3 separate regions of the Homo sapiens genome follow, and regions 2 and 3 are each linked to region 1. The links are contacts of gene promoters, found by promoter capture Hi-C in human tissues and cell types (Jung and others, 2019). All regions are on one chromosome and are shown on one strand. The core of a region is centred on a gene start or on the middle of the fragment in contact, and the rest is flanking DNA. Distances in the headings are between cores, read along the strand shown.

The links. The method cuts DNA at HindIII sites, captures the fragments that hold promoters and counts their contacts. A contact is called where the count stands out against the background at its distance.
Region 2: a fragment that was not itself captured here is called in contact with the fragment with the promoter of GMPS in region 1 in 1 of the 25 tissues and cell types used here (aorta).
Region 3: a contact is called between a fragment that was not itself captured here and the fragment with the promoter of GMPS in region 1, in 1 of the 25 tissues and cell types used here (mesenchymal stem cells).

What each region holds. Positions count from the first base shown.
Region 1 is chr3:155,868,500-155,872,737 of GRCh38, reverse strand. It overlaps GMPS (guanine monophosphate synthase), which reads right to left and starts at 2,088. Exons shown (of 16, transcript NM_003875.3): 1 at 1,841-2,088. The coding sequence starts at 1,867. RefSeq lists enhancers at 1,295-2,054, 2,594-2,643 and a silencer at 1,234-2,453. The HindIII fragment of the contact is 29,940 bases long and covers 1-4,238 here.
Region 2 is chr3:156,541,358-156,545,595 of GRCh38, reverse strand. SSR3 (signal sequence receptor subunit 3) reads left to right here. Exons shown (of 5, transcript NM_007107.5): 4 at 1,157-1,288; 5 at 2,327-4,238. The coding sequence ends at 2,393. Among named protein-coding and RNA genes, the nearest start is that of SSR3, 12 kb to the left of the region's middle. The HindIII fragment of the contact is 4,353 bases long and covers 139-4,238 here.
Region 3 is chr3:155,326,952-155,331,189 of GRCh38, reverse strand. No RefSeq gene overlaps it. Among named protein-coding and RNA genes, the nearest start is that of STRIT1, 35 kb to the right of the region's middle. The HindIII fragment of the contact is 5,967 bases long and covers 1-4,238 here.

The DNA of each region.
Region 1 (4,238 bases), core at 839-3,338:
AAAGAACCTTGAAATAAAATTAATTCACCCTAGGCTCAAATATAGCAAACTGATAAGATTATCTTTGTCATTCCAACTAGAGCAAAACAAAGAAAAAATACCAGTTAGGAAAAAGAAAAATCCTCTTATATACTCTGGAAACAAATCTTATACTTTTCTGTCACTTAGTTTTGTGAAAATACTCCTCTCAAATGCACTATATATTTTTCAAAGCCCATAAATTAAATTTCAGTCCTTCTAACACCAGTTATTTCATCTATCAGCATAAAGATGAATCTTTCCAATGAGTTGTAAGACTCAAAACTAGGCAGAAAAATGCTTTGCAAGTCGACTAGTAATCGGGAAAGAGCTGGACAATGGGGTTTACATTTGCTCCTTAGGTCAGAAACTAAAGGTTTGTGTGTCTTAACAGCTCCCTGGACCTAAGCACCACTGGTGCCTTGGTTTAAAAGAGTTAAAATCAGCTACCTTATAATCTTTTACTCATTGTTCGACAAATACTTTTTGAATGATTACCGGGTGCTAAGCAACCATTCAAGAGGACCTCCTAAGATGTGACCCTTGAGCAGCACCTTTTAAAAAGAATGTTAAAATTCTGCCTGAACAAGGCACTACTATCTGACGTAGAGCACCAAATCCACCTCGAAGTATACAATCCCACCCCCCGAATGAAATTTAATTAAGTTTTTTCCTAAAGCTAGGCCCTCAACAGCGTACAGAGGAGGTGTATCTTAATGAAGTAAATCGCAATTCAAAACTGCACGGTTTCCCGCTGGCAAAACTGACTTAGTGAAGGTCAGAAAGAACTCCAGGCCAATGAAAATTTTAATACAGAGGTGAAAGCGAAGGTGCCCAATTCAAAAGCGGGACGAAAGTAAGAGGAACGGTCTAAGAAAAGTGAGTTGGAGGAGAGATGAGCAGCAGCGGTCAAACGTGCTCTCCCCGCCGGGTACGTCAAGGCGGCAACTTTTCCAGCACTCCGGAACTCCGGACTGCCCAGGCCTCGGGCGAGCTGGCACGGCTCGCGTCCCGGGGAGGGACCCCAAAGGCGGGGAAGCGGGTTACCCCGCAAACCAGCAAGCTCGACAGGGAGCAAGCTGGACGGGGGCGGGACCTGGACACACACCCTTTCCTCTCTGAGAAGGAAGCGGGGAGGGAGAACGGAGTGCGCGACCCTGGGGCCACCAGCCCTCACGCGGGCCTGCAGGGGCGTTGGGGGAGGGGGAAGACAGTGCAGCTCCGAGGGGTTCGTCCAGAACCGGCCTAACCGCCGCGGAGCCCAAGGCTGGCGGGGGGAATGGAGCGGGCCTCGCCGAGGGCAGGCGGGAAACGGGGTGGCGGGAAGACCAGAGGCCGGCCCAGCTCCAACGCCGCACAGGAGGCCCCGACCCTGCCCTGCCTTCGGCGGGCCCCGGGATCGCCACAACGGGCCCCCAGCCTCCCAGAGGGACGGGGTGGGAGCCGAGGAAGCCCCCACCCCGACACGCAGACACACAAGCCCGCTCGCCGCCCTACCCCCACCCTCGCGCCGCGCTCGCGGGCTCTGCGCCCCACAGCGGCGCGGGGGAGGCGGGGGCCAGCGACGCGGCCGCGGGGAGCTGATGCCCTCCCCGACGCCCGGACCTCGACACGCAGACAAGATCAACAAAGCATCGCCGCTCCCGAGATAAAACATGCCACAGGCCCCGACCAGGGACTCTACGACGCGTGGCTGCCCGGGGCGCAGGGCTGCGCGGACGGGCTGGGGGAAGGGGGTGGGGAAGGGCCTCGCGGGGTGGCTCCCCGGTCCGGGAGCCTCGCCTCCGCCGGGATGCGGTGCTGCAGGGACCCCCACGCTGACCTTGGAGTCTCCGTTGCACAGAGCCATCGGGGCCAGGGCCGGAGCCGCGGCGGTGACGGCGACAGTACGAGACGGGGCGGGAGGGTGCCGGAAGGGTCGGCGCCGCGGGCTGAGGTTGAGAAGGAGGCCTGGTCGAGGAGCAGCCGGCAGCGGAGAGGAGCCAGCCGCCAGAAAAGCGCCGAATGGAGCAACAGCAGCGGAGCGCGGGCCCCAGCGCCGCGGGAGAGAAGACCAGCAGCGCGCACGCTGCCCCCGCCTCCTGCTTCCGCCCCGGCCGGCCACTGGGAGGAGCCAGAGCCCGTTCGGCTTGGCAGCCGAGCCTCAGATACCCTCCGCAGCCGCCGCCAAACCGGCCGGCCCTCGAGAGGAGGGGCTCGCGGCGCCCGGCCCCGCCCCCAGCCCGGTCCCCGCCGGCAAAGCCGGCCGGGTCTCCCGCGGCCCGCCCTTGGGAGGAGGAGCCCGCGGCATCCACCGGCTCCGCCCCTCCTGCCCTCGCACCGAGGAGCCCGCCCCGGAGGAGGGGCCTGTGGCGCCGGCCAGGAGAAAAACCGAAGCCGAATCCGAGCTAGTTTGCTGCTGCCGGATTTGCCTGCTACCTTGGATGACTTCGGGAGGCTGGCGGCACCGAAGAGGCCTCCTGAGAGCTGGGCCCCTGGCGGAACTCTTAGCCGGTGGCGTGGCCTTATCTCAGGTTGCTGGACATGAAGGAGGCCAAGGCTGCTTTGGAAAGTTCCGTGGCCATATCTCAAGGATGTCATTGTAGGAACTGATCACTTAGATACTTCAAAAGTTATACAGCTCCCCACAAATACAGCAGGTGCAGTATTTCCAAAGAAAAGGGAGTTTGGGAGTGGTAATCTGGTGAGCAGCTGGCCCAGGGAACTGGTCGTGAAGCTCTGTTTGCACAACAGTGTTTTTATTGGAATTGTTTGTGGGGAAGGGGCTGCAGTCCCTCCACCTACCCCTTGGCAACCATCATGATGATGAGGTGTTACTTTGAATTTGGTTACCTAGAGGCCTAAATCGAGATTGGGGTATAAAGAATAATACTTGAGATGGCTTCCAGCTAACAAAGCCTTTCCACAAATATTTTTATTATAATACAGCCAACATTTTGCTGCAGTCATTCTTGTGTCAGACTGTAGCTAGGGTATTAAGGAGCCAGAGTGAGAAAATACTTTAAAAGCTAACTTTAACCAATCCCGTGAAAGTAGTAAGGTAGGATTGATGTTCTTATCCTTTTTACAAATGAGGAAATTGAGGCTTAGTGAGATAATGTGCCTCTCAGTATATATAGAATGTAAGGCCTGCCCAATCTGGGAAAGTGTAGACAGTTTATTAGTGAAATATTTACAAAAACGAAAGGCTTAAGGTCCTAGTGGGCCTGAGACTTAAGTATTTCGCTTACCTTTTTTTGAACGGAAAATTGAATATTTGAACTCTCCAAAGCCATGGATACTGGCTTCTCTGGGTAGGTCTGTATGCACAATCTAAAGAAGAGTGCAGTAACCAATAGGAGAACCTCAACTTACATAAACATCCACCCCTAATGGAGTGGAATGTGATGTGATATACTGGCATTAAGGATTGGCTAAGTCCCATCTATCTTAAACAATGCTTAGTTTAAATATATTCTAGGCTGGGCGTGGTGGCTCACACCTGTAATCCCAGCACTTTGGGAGGCCTAGGCGGGTGGATTACCTGAGGTCAGAGTTCCAGAACAGGCTGGCCAACATCATGAAACCTGTCTCTACTAAAAATACAAAAATTAGCCAGGCGTGGTGGCATGCGCCTATAATCCCAGCTACTCGGGAGGCTGAGGCAGGAGAATCGCTTGAACCCGGGAGGTGGAGGTTGCAGGGAGCCAAGATCATGCCATTGCACACCAGCCTGGGTGACAACAGCGAAACTCCATCTCAAAATAAACAAATAAATAAATAAATTCTAGTGGTCACCTGTGCTTAATGGCTAAGAATGTTGGCATGCACACAATATAGGATCCTGATATTCTTTCTTCTTTAGCTTCTGACTCTATTGACCCATCCCTCTTTGTTGAAACTGGATTTTCCTTAAAATGCACCAAAAAGTTGTCTTTTTATCTCTGTGATTGCTCTTGGTTGCCTTTGCTAGCTCCTTTTCCTATGTCTGGCCTTCAGGAGCTTTAAGTGTTGGATTTCTTCAGTATTTCTATTCCTAATCCTTTTCTCATCTTACTCTTCCTTGGAGCACTTGTTTAAAAATACAGACTTGTTGGCCAGGTGCGGTGGCTCACACCTGTAATCCCAGCACTTTGACAGGCCAAGGCAGGTGGATCACCTGAGGTCAGGAGTTCGAGACCAGCTTGGCCAACATGGTGAAACCCTGTCTCTACTTAAAAATACAAAAAATTAGCCAGGTG
Region 2 (4,238 bases), core at 1,066-3,565, 670 kb before region 1:
CTCCTTTCCGGCAAAACTTGTTTTCTTTGGATTAGTATACTTAATGAATATAATGTGTCAGTTACCAATGACTTACTTAAAGTGCTGTCCTTAGGGTTGAGGGGATGTGTCATCTGACTCCAGAGTAGGTTTATCTTTTTGGGAGACAAAGTGTCTACAAAGTGGCCTTCAACCTTTTTGATAATGACCTACAGTAAAAAATATGTATTTTACCTTTTGACCAGATAAACTCACACGTGGACACATGCACATGTTTCATAAAACGATAATTATCCTACTCTGTGCGATGTGCTGCTGATGTTTTTCTATTCTTTCCTATTTCATTTTTTTAAAATGCTGGTCTCAACTCAATTAATTTCTATGGGCATTCGATCCACTTGATTGAGTTCACATCCCACTAATGGGTCACAACCTACCCTTTTAAAAACTGCTTTACAAAGTTAATTAACCAACAAGAATGAAGGCTCCCTTATTCACAGGCATCCTATAACTTCCTTTTGCATGTGTGAAGGGGTAAAAGAAAAGATGGATGAAATACCAGTAAATTAATAAGATAAACTATCAGAACAAGTAAAATAGAATAAAAAGTAGAAGGATTTTACAGGCATTAAAAAGTCCTCCTAATGATTAAGCGCTCTTTTTTTGTTTGAATTAATAAAGATGGCTAACAATAGCCTACTTCTGTGAGACCACAGGTAATTTTTGTCATTGGGATTGTCTTCTGAAGGTGTGATATTGAAGTCTGAAATCCGTAGGCTGTAGAAAGCCTCAAGCCCAAGGTATAGCCAAGGAAACTCCACAGGCTGCTAATCATGGAGTTTGAGTTTTAGGTAAGGGCCAAGAGAAAGATATTTGACTTAGCTGCTGATGAAACCGTGCGGGTTGCCATTAATGAGTCCTTTCTTCCATAACCCTGGTTGCCTGGGAAAAATGGTAACATAACCAGCATGATGTTTTCTTCACTATCATAGAGTGACATATTTTTTTTCAGTGGAAGAAAGGGGACAATTCTGACTAAATCTAATATTACAAACACATTCTTACCCTAGAACACTCAAGGAAAAACTTGTTTTATGATGAACTAGAGCCATATGGTACTTAAAAGTTTTTTTAAATCATATTTATAAGCTTGTTTGACTTGTTTCTGTGTCTGTAGAATCTTGTGGAAGAAGAATGAAGTTGCTGATTATGAAGCTACAACATTTTCCATCTTCTATAACAACACTCTGTTCCTGGTCGTGGTCATTGTTGCTTCCTTCTTCATATTGAAGAACTTCAACCCCACAGTGTATCCTTTTCAAGGTTGATTATCTTTTTTAGAAGTCAAGAAACAGTAGTTCATTTTGGTTTTGACTTGTCTGGATATTTTAGTGGAAAGAAAAACTGCTCTGGGAGTCAGTCCATTAAATAGTGCTGACTTTAGATAACTTTCTGGACATTTAAAATAACAGCTATTGGTTTAAGATTCTTTTAAGTTTATGAATTATGACTGTATGATAAAGTATTACAAAGTAGTCTATGGGAATCTGTGTCCTTGCCTCCTTAAAAAAAAGCTCCAAAGAGCCAAAGCAAACCTGTCATTTTTGATAGCTTCTGAAATAATAAGCCCCTGTACCTGTTATTTTTGGGCTCTGGGGGTTGGGTGGATGGCCAATGCAGTTAAATAGGTTCATTCCAGTGTATCTTAATAGTGTTTCAAGCTGCTGTTAAGTTGAGCTTTTGGGCAAGAATCAGTCTTCTCTTATTAATTTATTAAAGATGTTATCCAGGAATGTGCAGCCAAGATTTTAACAATTGGTGATTATGATGTAATAAAATATCAGATACCCTCCAACGTGTACCTTCTGGGAATGCTGGAGTGATTTGCTGAAAATTGTAGAGTTCTGAGGCTAGGAGTAGCTTCGAACTTTTAGAACCTCCTTGCTGTTGCAAGCCAACTGCAGCAAAACACTGATTTGCAGGGAAGACTTATTTTTCCATTGCTCTTAGGGGAAGAAAAGGAAAACAAATCTCTTTTCTCTCCATGTTCTTTGATCAGCTCTTCGTGAAGGTTAAATGGAATTCAGATTATTCTTTGTGATCATGTGTTCTAGGTTTCTGTCTAAAGTGTTTTTTTTAAATTGGAACACATTTCCTGTGAATGTTTTCCATTTTTTTTTGGTCTTCTGTCTTGCAAATTGTGTTTGCAGACAATGGGGCTGCACATCATTATGATTACACCAAGTGTCAGGAAGGAAGCAGTACATTCCAAAGAGATGGGCTCTTTATTTTCTCAAAAAACCAATTTGGAGTTACTCATTTTTCCATAACATTAAATTTCTTACAGGAACTACATATTGTCCATAAGTGCTTCATCAGGACTCATCGCCCTCCTGTCTACTGGCTCCAAATAGACCATGTCAGCTTCACCCCCTGGCTTTGTGTCTATGGGTGGCCTGTGGTATATGGAAAAGTAGCAGGGTGGTCAGGGTGGGAGACACAAGATGTTTTTATAGTCTAGAGCCTTTAAAAAACCCAGCAGAATGTAATTCAGTATTTGTTTATTGGCTGTTTTTTGACAGATTGTTGAAATTAAATGAATTGAAAGGGAAACTCAGAGTACTAGGACGTTTATTAAAAGGAAAAAAATGTCTTGCAATGTGCTGTAATCACAAGAGGAGAAAATAACTTGTTTCCTTGATCTGTCAGAGGTCACAGTAACCTGGGCCGAGCTGTTATTATTTATTATATAATAGTAGTAGGAAGTTAATAACTGGTTCTCTGTGTTCCAAGCACAATATTACAACTTCTTTTGAACCGTAAATATCAGAATGAATCCTCTTCCCAGGGGATTGAACAGAAGCTTAATGTTTACAAGTGTTTGAATTTGTGATCTGAAATAACACAAAATTAAAAACATGATTTCTCTAATTTTCCAACTAGAGGAAGAGAAACTTGTGGAAAAGTTCTTTTTTTTTCTTTTTTTTTTCTTAAAGAAGGGCAGCCAAGGTAGTAACCTAAAAATAGTGCCCAGGCATATGAGAGTTGTCCTACGAGGTTAAAGAACACACTGTTCCACTGTATGGCTTTGGCCCTGAGTGGCCAGGGAGGTCAACTTGACCCTGCCATGTTGGTTTGACTTACTAAGACACAGGAATCACTGTTTTCCTTGACCAGGGTCTCACACCCTGGAGGAATGTTAAGTAAGAGAAAGAACCTCTTTCCTGAATATTGACATGTAAAAGACCAAAGTAATTTTTCTGAACTTCTGCAATTCTGAGAACTCTCCAAGGAATTTACAGTGATTTTAGTGCTTGTCAGCATTTTTCCATGAGGACTTTCATACATTTGACTCTTTAGTTCACAGGTTCCCATTGATTGTGAGCAAGATATTTATCTCTTTAGCCCTTGGGGATCCAGCTGAGAGCAATCTCTTGCATTTTTTTACCCGTGTATGTACAGATATCATTTCTTGTGTATGCCATGACTTGAAAAAGTTTGGGAAGCTCTTTAGCAATATCAGCTAAAAGGATATGAAATCACAGGTGATAGCAGTTGTCATTCAGTAATTTCCTACAAGCAGCACCCCAAAGGAAATATAGTCCTAATCTTTACTATCCACTTCTAAATTTAATGTGAATTTCATACATGTTATTAGTTGTTTTCTTTATAATTTTATAAAAATTATTCATCGGGAGTTTAACTTCCACTTCCATGCTATCGGATGTGTTGGGCTCCATGCAAGAACTTGGAAGAAAAACAGGCAGGAATGCATTTGCATAATGACCCAGATCATCATTTTCTGCAACTGAGAATTATATTTCATCATTGCTTCTAGAAGTCTGCAATTCTTTACTTTTCTTTGGTGCATTATTATCTAGGTGCCATCACTGGATAATGTGGAGTGACTAGAGAAGTCACATATCACTGTAAGGTACAGTTAGGGTAACACTTTAGAGGTTTATTATTTTTAAAAAACTTTTCTTGAACTCCTGGCCAACATGGTGAAACCCCGTCTCTACTAAAAATACCAAAATTAGCCAGGCGTGATGGTGGGCGCCTGTAATCTCAGCTACTTGGGAGGCTGAAGCAGGAGAACTGCCTGAACCCAGGAGGCAGAGGTTGCGGTGAGTCGAGATCGTGCTACTACTGCCTGGGTGGCAAGGGTGAGACTCCATCTCAAAAAAGAAACAAAAAAACCCAAAAAGTTTTCTTTACTGTTGGTTAAAAAAAAAAGCCAGACCATAGTTTGACTGGTG
Region 3 (4,238 bases), core at 582-3,081, 540 kb after region 1:
AATTTGCTCCATATGTTGGTTTCTGAAAGACTGAAATAGTGGATCACTTTTGGAAATGGCATCGATAGCATTTTCTAATCTTCATATTGATTACCACCTTTGGTTGATATATATTACTAATGTTTGTATACACATGTGTATACATTATACATTTCAAGATCTATGTGCAGAATAAAAAGCCCATGTTTATTTTCAAATATACTGCTTTCATGACTCTCATGACTCTCCGCTCTGGCTTCAGCTGAGCAGATAAGCGGCCCAGTACGAGTTGGTTCTGTTGCCCTGGAAGGTGTTTCACAGTAGCAAGGGCCCTTGGTATTGGAAGAGACATCAAAGATCATCAGAAGATCCCAAACCTGACAGCACATTTATGAAATTCACTGGGGAGATTAAAACTAGATATATCTCAGCCCCTATTTTGGTCTAGTAATTCAAAATATCTGGATGAGGGTTTTGAAAAAACTCAGCCAGATCTGAGAATTGCATAATCCAGTCACCTTCATGATTTTGTTAAGTCTTCAGATTTAGAGTCAAAAGTAAGCAAGTCTTGTTAAAAACCCATTATCTTGAAAATCTGGTTGTTGAACTGTTTTTGAATGTATCTGCATGGATAAACCAGACTCTTCAGTTTTTATCTGATGGGACATCATGTCCTGTTGTCCTCAATATCCTCCCACAGCAGCCTCCTCTGAGCCTGCTCAGACAAGAGCAGAACACATTTTTGTCAAATGAATTAATAAACTTGAATTTCAGATCTTTTATTGTCAAAGAGGGAAAAATGTCATTCAGAAGGGAAGGACCAGGGCCTTATTTTTTTTCTTGTACCTGAACAATGATACTGTAAAAAAGTTAGATCAGAACAAAACTATTTATATTAGATCAGAACAAAAACCATTTTATGATTTAAGAGCTTATACTGGGTTTCTCAACCTTGTGTAGGAATTAGGAAGTCCTTCATTGCTATCTGCTGGAATCAGTACTGCATTAACTCCAAATAGGCATAATTTACTGAAGCCCCTCACCTTCAAACAGCTTATATGACTAATTCCGCTGGCACTCGTATTTGCCCTAGACCCAAGACTAAATACCAGATGCCACCAGGCTGCAGTGTGGTGTGTGGGGTGGCAGGAATAAGGAGGCATGGATTTCAGCTGGGTCTGCCCCTCTCCAGTCATGTGATTCTTTTTCAGCTGCATCTCTTCTCTGGCCTCCCCAGACTACACTTCTGGTATAAAATTTGGATGCTTTGATAGTGAATTATTCTGATCCTTAAACTCAAAGTGCATCATCCCTTCCCAATTGCCTGAGGGGAGAGCAAATCTGAGAGGGAAGCAGGCTCAGCACCCTGTGATTGAGATTATGAGGGTGCCTGCACACGCGTGCCTACGGGTGTGATGCTGGAGATACAAGGGGGCCTGAGATGCACAAAGACTAATTTGTAAATCTAACAAAAAAGCCTATTTTTTAGAACAGTTAAGGTTCAAAGCAAAATTGAGCAGAAGGTACAGAGAGTTCCCAAACGCCCTCAGCCCCTGCAAACGCACAGCCTCCCACACCATCAACACCTCTACAAAGTAGTACATTTGTTATAACTTATGAACCTACATTGACAAACGTAATTACCTCTTGGCCTTTTGACTAAGATCAAGTGTAGCATCCTATTTTTATGAGGAATTGTTTGGACCCATCTGTCTCTGCAACTAACTCGTCTATCTCTCCAAGTAACCCTCTAATTACTTACACACAGACCAGAGTTCCTTTTCTAGAAACAAACTCTGTTTCTGATTTGGTAGCTCTGATAGTACCAAGCACATGGTGATAAGCTCTGGATTCATGGTTTCTTGGTGCTCCATGGCCAAGCATTCCTTCCCTCCTGGAGCTCAAGAGCAAAGCAGGAGTTGTTTTTCAGAAGGTATCTAATTCTTCATTGCATATATCATGGCCCTGTTCCAGACCTCCAGGGCCTGTGTTGCCACTCTGTGTTGCTTTTATATATAGAGAGTTATAAAGTCTATTTACTCTTCCTACCTAGAATGTTTTGAGGGGACACTGAGGAGATCATCCACCCTTCCTGCATTTTCTTTCCCCAACATGTTAGACTGGCGTGTAAATTTCCAACTTTATTAGGCATCAATTTTAGCTTAAGATTTTTGTCTCCAAATAAAATGCAAATATCCCTTAGGAAGAGTAACACCTCACAGTACATAAACTATTAGCAATATCACATTTGCATAGGTTTTTACATTTTATAAATCATTTTCACCCATGTTAATGCTTAACTTACATAATAGCATAAAACACAGCAACTCTAAGGTGATGGTGGAGATGGGACTAAAGAATGGTTGTGTGCTAGACAACATTTCCTAAATGTATACAGGACACCTCACTTAAAAATCATTGACATACAGTACGGTCTATCACTGAATTTATAAACATTGTCTCATGTATTCCTCTTGACATTTCTTTAAGGTATATATTCTACAGGTAAGGAAACCAAGGAACTGAGATTAAATGACACCTGTGTTGATGAAAAAAGCCAAACTCTGTAAAATATTTGAAGCCTTATTCTGAGCCAAATGTGAGTGACCATGGCTTGAGGCACAGTCTCAAGAGGTACTGAGAACACGTGCCCAAGTTTGTTGGGTTGCATTTGATTTTATACATTTTAGGGGGACAGAAGTTACAGGCAGACATCAATCAATACATGTAACAATACATGTAAGGTGTACAGTGGTTTGGTAGGAAAAGGTGGGACAACTTGAAGTAGAGGTGGGGGTGGGCTTTACAGGTCATAGGTGGAGTCAAAGATTTTCTGATTGGCAAGTGGTTGAAAGACTTAAGTTATTGTCTAAAAATGTGGAATCAATAGAAAGGAGTGTCTGGGTTAAGATAAGAGAATGTGGAGATCAAGGTTCTTGTTATATAAATGAAGCTTCCAGGTAGCAGGCTTCAGAGAGAATAGATGGTAAATGTCTCTCACCAGAATTTAAAGGTGCCAGACTCTTAGTTAAACCTCTCCTGGATTAGGAAAAGACCTAGAAAGGGAAGGGGATTTTCTACAGAATGTAGATTTTCCCCACAAGAGGCAGCTTTGCAGGGCTATTTCAAAATATGTCAAAGAAATATATTTTGGGATAAAATACTTTGATACTTTCAGGGCCTGCTATTTGTCATATGATGCTATGCTAGACTTAGGTTGGAATTCGCTATCTTATTCTACAAAGAGTCTGTTATGTCAGTCTTAAGATCTCTGTTTTGCTGTTAATGCTGGTCGGTTCTGTCTGAATTCCAAAGGCAGGAGAAAATAATGAGGCCTGTCCCACTCCCCTTCCCATTGTGGCCTGAACTACTGTTTTTAATCTAATTAAAACTAATTAAAATTAGTTTTAACTAATCTTTGAAATCCCCTTGGCGGAGAGGAGGCATCCATTTAGTTGGTTGTGGGGCTTAGAATTTTTTTTTTTGTGGGTGGGGGTGTTTACACCTGGATAGTAATCAGAGGATTAAGTCCAAGCCTTTCTGGAGGGCAGAGTTTGAGAGCTTGGAGAGTGGAGGGGACACAGGCCCTGGTTATCTTCCAGAGGCAGGGGACCAGGGAGCAGGAGGGGGTATGAATAAGGTAGTAGAAAAAGCTACTGGCTTGTTCCCTGCATGCTTTGGTCCTTTTGGGTTTCTGCTGTTATGTAAGGGTGTAAAGTGGGACTGGACCCTTGAGGGATGGTTCCCTTAGATCTACTCCACCCTATCTTTTACCTAACACAACAGAAGATTATTAGAGACATTGAAGAAAAAAATCCATGCTATTTCCTGTTTTACGAAGGGTGAGTCCTTTCCTGTTCTCTCAACATACCTGAAATGTTATGATCCAAACCAAATGCACCTGAGCTCTTAGCTTTGAATTTGCTGGGATAACCTAGGAAGTATTGCCTCTTCCTTGGGCTGGGAGACCCTATGGTATCATGAGGGTAGAGGAAGCTCTTTCTTGCACCACAGCTTGGCAGAAAGAAGGACTGTGCTTGACTTGAGTCATACGCACATAAATGTCTTGGCAGAAGTATGTTTTACATGCCCAATACCCTTGCCTCTGGACCTTCACCAAACTACACATCAAAAGGGGAACCTGCAACGGGTTTCTGTTGCCCCAGAGTCCTGAAGTGTGAGCTTTTTACCCGTCTCCCTGAACACACTTTGTTTTTTTTCTCTATTCTCCTGGCTCCTGCCTTTTTTGTTCTTTTTCT